2 separate regions of the Homo sapiens genome follow, and region 1 is linked to region 2. The links are contacts of gene promoters, found by promoter capture Hi-C in blood cells and fetal thymus (Javierre and others, 2016). All regions are on one chromosome and are shown on one strand. The core of a region is centred on a gene start or on the middle of the fragment in contact, and the rest is flanking DNA. Distances in the headings are between cores, read along the strand shown.

Region 1 (3,679 bases), core at 1,114-3,613, 590 kb before region 2:
GCCTATTCATTGTTAGAATTTTGTTTGTAGCTTTTAAGGTAAACTTTGATTAAGTTAACGTAACCTTGACAATTTTTAAAAATACTGTTGAAAACATTTTTCTTTTCCATTTTTCAGTTTCTTTAGGTGATTTTTCTGACACTTCAGCAGATGAAAATTCAGTTAATAAAAAAATGAATGACTTTCATATATCAGATGATGAAGAAAAGAATCCTTCAAAACTATTGTTTTTGAAAACCAATAAATCAAACGGTAACATAACCAAAGATGAGCCAGTGTGTGCCATCAAAAATGAAGAGGAAATGGCACCTGATGGGTGTGAAGACATTGTTGTAAAATCTTTCTCTGAATCTCAAAATAAGGATGAGGAATTTGAAAAAGACAAAATAAAAATGAAACCTAAACCCAGAATTCTTTCAATTAAAAGCACATCTTCAGGTAATTTGTTAGGATTACTGTAATTGCATTTCTTGGAAGTTTATTTTAAGATAATCAGTCCCAAAATTTTTATATGGTAGCTAGTATATATTTAAGAAAAAAAGACAGACTTAACTTCCATTTTACAGACCTGTTGTATTTTGTCTAACTTCAATTTTACAGACCTGTTGTATTTTGTCTAACTTCAATTTTACAGACCTGTTGTATTTTGTCTTGCATCTAGGCTGTTGCCTGATAGAAAGCCAAAGCACAAAGCCAAAGCACCTTTAGTCATCCATAGCATCCATAGCTGTGGATCTCCAGACACCTAGACCTGTGAGCTTCAGTTTTGTTTGTAGGTGTGGAACTGGAATGGAATGCTGTCTAATCCCTCTCACACTCCAAAGATTAGAGTTACAGCAATATTGAGACTAATCCTTCTAACAGTCTTTGCCATACCAACATTGTGCCAGAAAATTTTCTTGACATTTGTATATTTGAAGGATGAGTTATGTTATTGCTGCTGTTGTTTGTTGAAGCATCCAGGCACTCCTTAAGAGAATCTCCATTTGATCTCTGTATTGCCTATGAAAATCTACTAAGATTCAGTTTTCCAAAGGAAAGTTCCTGGTGTGATCTGGGATTACAGTTAGTTCTGCCCACAATTTTACTGAATTTTAAGCATAAAGGAACAAAGATAGAATGAAACGGAGACCAAGTCCTGTCACATACCCTGGGCCACCATTCATGAACTTGTATATGCAAGGTTAAGGATTTTTTGTTTTTCATTCTTTGTATTTTATAAAGGAATTATTAGTTGATGTTAACCTTCATAAAAATCTCCTTGCATATCATCAGTAAATACAGTGCTGGTAAATATTTCATACTTTGCATATTAGATACCAGTGGTAACGTCAGACAAAACTTTATTTCAGGCATGTATTGGGGAACTGCTCCTTTCTTCCTGACCCCACAATCTCATTAACTTTGAAATGAGCAAAGGATGTAAGCAGAGCAAAGAACACTAGAATAATATCCAGGACACTGGGGGAAAGGCCTCTGTATATTATATATGACTTCAGCAAATAAGTTAAGCTTCAGTATCCTCATGATGAGGAAGCTAAAAATAACCCTCTTTCTATTCCTGCAAAATTGTGAGAGTTTATTGAAGTGCATCTCATAAACTATAAAAAACTACAAAAATGCAAACAGATGCATAATGAAACAATTAACTTGTTAAAATGTACCTTCTAAGTATAGTGAGTGAAATCAATGCTGGAGAGAAGAGGAACATAATTGAACTTCGTTATTAAGAAAATGCGAGCATATATAGCAACTAAAAATTTGTCTGAGACAGGTGGATGTATATAATTAGAAGTTTATGGTAGATAATCAGGAAAGCAATAATCCACCTATTTCATACCTTAAAAAAAAAAAAAACCTGTGGTGGGTTACAATGAATAAGAAAATACTGTATTTTAACCACAAGGTGGCATCAGGATCCTAAATGCTCTACTTATATATGCAATGTTATATTCAGTACGTGTAATATAAAAATAATTACCTAAATAGGTAATTGTATACATTGATTACCAAAAAAAGCGCTTTTCTTAAAGTATAGGCATTTTTTTTTCTTTTTGGGAACTTGACAGTACTTCTGGAAGTGGAATTTTTGTAGAAAATATATTAAAGTTGTCATTCTCAGGTTCTTCAGGTTGAAAAGTAAAAATTGAGGCTAGTGTTCCTAAGATAATATCTGGCATATATAATAAGTATTTAAATGAATAAATTAATATATGAATGATTTATCTTTGAAAGAGGGAATATGGTTCATGAGTTTATCCTCTAAATTCTTTGACTTTTTTTTTTTCTGTACAGGTTTGGAACTCAATGTTTTTAATGTGGTGAGATATTGCTGAGTAGCAAGTAATGCTTTATGAAACTATTAGAGCTTGAAGGTTTTCTCTGTCCTTGCTTGTCTTTTGTAAAAAGTATAATAACCAGACTTTATAGTCACTACTGAAGTGACAGTTGCTCTATAAAGTGAAAGTATTTTTCACAGGATATGTTTTTATTTTAATACTAACATGACTGAAATCATGAACTTTGGAGTCAGGATGCTTCTCCTTTAATCTGAGATCTGCAGCCTGCTAGAGTTTGTGACTTTGGGCATGAGACCTCTTTGTTCTCATTTTATTCATCTTTAAAAACGGGATAATAGTTGCCTGCCTCTAGGAGTTTGAGGCAATTAAATGAGTTCACATATTTGAAGTGCTTAGAATAGTACTGGCATAAATTTAGCACTCTATAAATGTTCTGATTATTCATTTTATTATTTAGCGTTTGTTTATAAACATGCTCAGCAGGTATAAAGTATCAGTCATGCGGGATGCGTAAGTTCTAGAGATCTGCTGTACATTGTGCCTATAGTTAACAGTACTGTCTTTTGCACTGAATGTATTAAGAAGGTAGATCTCATGTTTGTTCTTACCACAATAATAAAAAAAATTGACTCAACACCTTCTTTCAGGCATTATATAATATTCTGCTTAAACTGAGGCTCAAAAGACATGCAAGCATTTGTCAGGAGGAGAAGCAGGAAGTGGATATTCTAGGCAGGGGGATCAGCTTAGGTAAAGGTATGGTAGCAGGAGGGATTGGAGGGATTGTGGTATGTGTGCATGACAACTGTTAGCCCAGCATTTCAGAAACACAGATGACAAAATGGCTGTAGATAAGGCAGTGAAGGACAAAACCATAAAATCCGTTTTATGTTGTTTAAAGGCAGTTAAGCTTTTATTCTGTAGGATTGGATCATGGGGAGCCATTGAATAATTTTGTAGAAAGGAGTGATGTGATCTGATTTGGATTTTGTAAATATCATGGAAGCAGTGATCTAGGAAAGAGTGGATAAGGACCCGACAGCAGGGATGTAGAAAGTGGAATAAATGAGATATTTGGCAATTAGAATTGATAGGATATATTGATACTCTGGATTTAGGGGATAATAGAGGGAGGAATCTAGAGCCCTTGGATTTGGGGTTGAACATTTGGCTGGAGTTTAGGATGTAGCTAAAATTGTCAGCTACTTATAATAATACCAATTTGGTATGGTTGTGGAATCTTCTGGCAGAATCCATAAGCCCATTTTTAGGTAAATGGGAGGAAGATGTTAATTAGACCAATTTTGAAGTTGAGAAAAATGCATTTGTAGAACAATAGAAACATAAATATGTATAGCAGGTAAAATGCAGGCAAAAAA
Region 2 (3,857 bases), core at 1,306-3,805:
TGTTTTTATTAAAGAATGAGAGCACATTTTATTGCTAGAAGTTAAATATATAATGGATAAAAGTTTTAATATTAAGTTTAAATTCTGAATGACTTAAAAATTGAACTATTTAAAAAAACTGTAACTAATACTTTTAAAAAATACTGCTTTGAACACAAAGGTGTATATGCTGTTTGAATTCAGGATAAAGATATCTACATATTCTTGTCCAAATTAAGTACACCATTCCTTACACAAGGTCCTTCATAATCTGTTATTTTAAATCTGTTACCAATTTGAACATAGAGATCACATTTTCTTGCCTCATCAATCATCGGGTAGTAAAATGAGAAATAACATTCGGCATTAATATGCAAATCTGGACAATTTTTACAGCAATTACTTGATTTGTAGTCACAAACTCTACTTAAACTGACATGTCTTCCTTCTCCTAACAATAAAATAACACCATTAAACCTGAGACTTAATTTCAGTCCATAAACTGGGTTTGTTCTCGTTATTAATAATTCTTGTTTCATAATATATCCAGTAATGCATATATTTTAAGTGTTGATATGTATTATATTTGGCAATAATATTCAAGTACATTACTCCAACCTCTTAAGTGAAAATCAGCAATCAAAGCAGTGCCTTAAGCAGAAAGCATTAATATTTAGTGATTGCAGGCAGCACTGTCATCTTTATGTCTATAAAGATGCAAACAAATTTTATTAACAATGCAAACAAATGCAGACAGATGCAAACAAAGTTTAAAGTAGAATGTTTTAAACGTGTGCCCTGAAAACAAGTCTATTATTAGACCCCCATAAGGAGATTCAATTCTGAAAAGATCCAAATGGAAGTCTGTCAAACTGTATATACATCGTGGTGATTCTTGAAACGAAAATATCTTCCCATTATTTAAATAAGCAAAATTCTACAGACCCTTGAACATGTCCTTTATATGTTATTCTCCTTATACACGCAACATATCCTGCTTCCTGGTTATAACGCCATTCTCAAACACAAAATCAGGCCAATTTTTAAGAGAAGCCAAGACTTAAAAAGCTCGGCGGCGATGGCTCACGCCTGTAATCCCAGCACTTGGGGAGGCCGAAGCGGGTGGATCATGAGGTCCAGAGATCGAGACCATCCTGGCCAACATGGTGAAACCCTGTCTCTACTAATACAAAAATCAGCTGTGCGTGGTGGCGCGCGCCTGTAGTCCCAGCTACTCCCGAGAGTTTGAGGCAGGAGAATCGCTTGAACCCGGTAGGCGGAAGTTGCAGTCAGCCGAGATCCTGCCACTGCTCTCCCGCCTGGGAGACAGAGCGAGACTCCGTCTCAAAACAAAACAAAAAACAAAACAAAAAAACTCCTTATGATATTTCCTCTTTGATATTTGCCTATATTAGGATTACCACATAACATAAAGGTTACGGGGAATTTATCAAGAATGTAAAGACAGTTAAAGCTTAAAGAACTTAAATATTACCTAAGCTAAATTTACATAGGAGAAAACTGGTGCCCAAATAAATCAAGCAGCTTCGCAATATCTCAGAATATCAACGCCAGGATTAAATGCCGCTGGTTCTGTGGTTTTTCCAGCAGCTCCAAAGAAACATTTTTAAATTAGGGGTTTAAAAACTACCAGATGTTAGGAAACAAAGGCGGTGCCACGACGTGTGCTGCCGTCCGTGTGTCGGGGGAGAGGCGAGCTATCTTCCCTGTGCACCCGCGGCCTCCCACTGCCCACAGCCCAGCACACACGAGGTACTCGGGGAAGAAACAGGGAGACAAAGGCAAAGTAAAGTTCGAGGCTCAGTCCCGGCTAGAACTCCACGCAAACGACTAGGAGCCCGCTAAAGCTCACCCAGCCTGAATTCAATTCTGAAACCAGACTGCTGAATCTCACCCAGCCGTCGGGACGCCCCAGACGGCGTCCAAAGCCTCCAGGGGACGCGCGGACCCTACAACGGCCAGGCAGCGGCCCGGGCCTGCAGCGGTCGTTGGTCGTCGGCGTAAGCGTGTCAGGAAAATAACACGAAATGCAGCACAGGTGGGAAGCGGCCGGAAGGCAGCGGGGGAGAGCGGAAATAAGGCGGAGAGCGCAGGGCGCCGCGGGGCGGAAGAGGCCGCCAGACGCCCCAAAGAGACTGGCCGCTGGGCCCTCACCATGCAGCGCCTGGGTGACGGCGAGGGCGCCTTCTGGCCGGATGCTGCCGGGGCAGGAAGCAGCGTCTCGGACACTTGCCCTCCCACTGCTCGACGGGGCTGGGGAAGGACGAGGGTGAACCCCGCAGCCACCGCCGCCAGCCCCCACTGTGTATTCGGCGTGAGAGTGAGCCGGGCACTATCCAGCCGTTAGCAGTGGTCTGGTAGTGACCCCGTTTCCCCTTTCCCCTCCTCACCCCTTCGGGTCTTCAAATGTTGGTCCTAAATCCCGGGGCCCAACGACCAAAAACCGCCGCCACCGTTTAGGGGACCAGTCGGTCAGAGCGAGGGGGGGTCGTCGCAGGGGGAGGGTAGCCCACCGGGACCGCTCGCGCTGGTCCTCGTGTCTCCACTCGTTTCCCAGCGCGCAGCGCGCGCGGTGGCCTAAGCAGCCCCACGAGGAGTGGTGCCTCATCCAATCAGGGATTAGCTTCGGGGCGGGGCGAGGAGGAGAGAGTGGGGCTAAAGTTTAAATGAGGCTCTTGGGCTAGTCAAAGTGCTTGGAGTGACAGGCATTTCGAGCAATTGGGGTGAAGAGAGCGATTTTTAGGGTGTGGGTGGGCACGGAATAATAAATGAAGGTCCTAGGTGCATTGTTTAGGTGTTTGAAGACGAGGGCTGCAGTGTGAAATTCCGCACTTAAGGGAAAACATAGATGCATCGTAATGGTTCTTTTTCTTGTTTGATGTAGTTTTCTTGTAAACTGCTAGTTTGGCGCAAAACAACCACATATATCCGGTGGACCTTTGAAATTAAGGGCTAGGGGGAGGTGGGTTATAAAGCTAAAAGATGGATTTGCAAATAGGACTAGAAGTATAAAGTATAAGTGGTTTAAATGACAATGACTAAGAAAATGGGTTAGATGAGGAGAACTAGCGATAGGCTTGACGCTACCACTAATCAGCTTGCAGGGACATTTGGCAGAGGCGAACTGCCGAACTGGGTTCTATGCTCTTGTAAAACCAACTTTCACAGATAGGGTTGTTTGGCATTCGGTATGCATAACTTCAGTTTTGCTTCCTTTGAAGACAGCTCGAAATTAAATGCAGACAAGGAAAGAAAAAACCACCTTTAGGAACCAACTATTTATGTATAGATAATATTAGATTCATGGAATATTAGACAATAAAGAACCTAGCTCATGTTGATTCTCTAATTAACAAGGAACTTCATGCCCAGAATATTCACCGAGTAACACAGATCTCCTTATTCCCAACCTCAAGGTGATTTCTTCCACATTAACTCCTAATGTATTTTCTCCATATATTCAAGGAACTAATGAATGTCTACCAATTTAAATTTTGTTAAAGTATATTTTTAATTTTTAAATATACTACAACAGTGAGGAATTAGCAGGGACTTTGGAGCCAGACAGACCCTGTTTAAAGTGGGGATTGTGAGAATAAAATAATATATGATATTACCAAATATTGAGCCAGATGCCAGAAACAATCCTAAGGACTTTTCATATTTTCATTTAATTCTCACAGTAACTTTGGTAAAGTTACTAGCCCTACTTTGCAGACGGGGAAACAGATGCAGAAACCTTAAGTAGTTTGGGCAAAGTCATATAGCAAGTAAGTGGCTCCAGTTTGAAACCTACAGACATAATTGCTATACTATACTGTCTCAAAATACGTCCAGAAACAAGTAGAAAACTTGGC

The links. The method cuts DNA at HindIII sites, captures the fragments that hold promoters and counts their contacts. A CHiCAGO score of 5 or more calls a contact.
Region 1: a contact is called between a fragment that was not itself captured here and the fragment with the promoter of RBM46 in region 2, in 4 of 17 cell types (megakaryocytes, endothelial precursors, M1 macrophages and 1 more). The highest score is 5.8, in megakaryocytes.

What each region holds. Positions count from the first base shown.
Region 1 is chr4:155,369,895-155,373,573 of GRCh38, reverse strand. MAP9 (microtubule associated protein 9) reads left to right here. Exons shown (of 14, transcript NM_001039580.2): 4 at 118-438. Among named protein-coding and RNA genes, the nearest start is that of MAP9, 5.2 kb to the left of the region's middle. The HindIII fragment of the contact is 1,698 bases long and covers 1,515-3,212 here.
Region 2 is chr4:154,779,970-154,783,826 of GRCh38, reverse strand. RBM46 (RNA binding motif protein 46) reads right to left here and starts at 2,555. Exons shown (of 5, transcript NM_144979.5): 1 at 2,391-2,555. It overlaps LOC105377500 (a long non-coding RNA gene), which reads left to right and starts at 1,954. Exons shown (of 4, transcript NR_188451.1): 1 at 1,954-2,038. The HindIII fragment of the contact is 3,692 bases long and covers 1,456-3,857 here.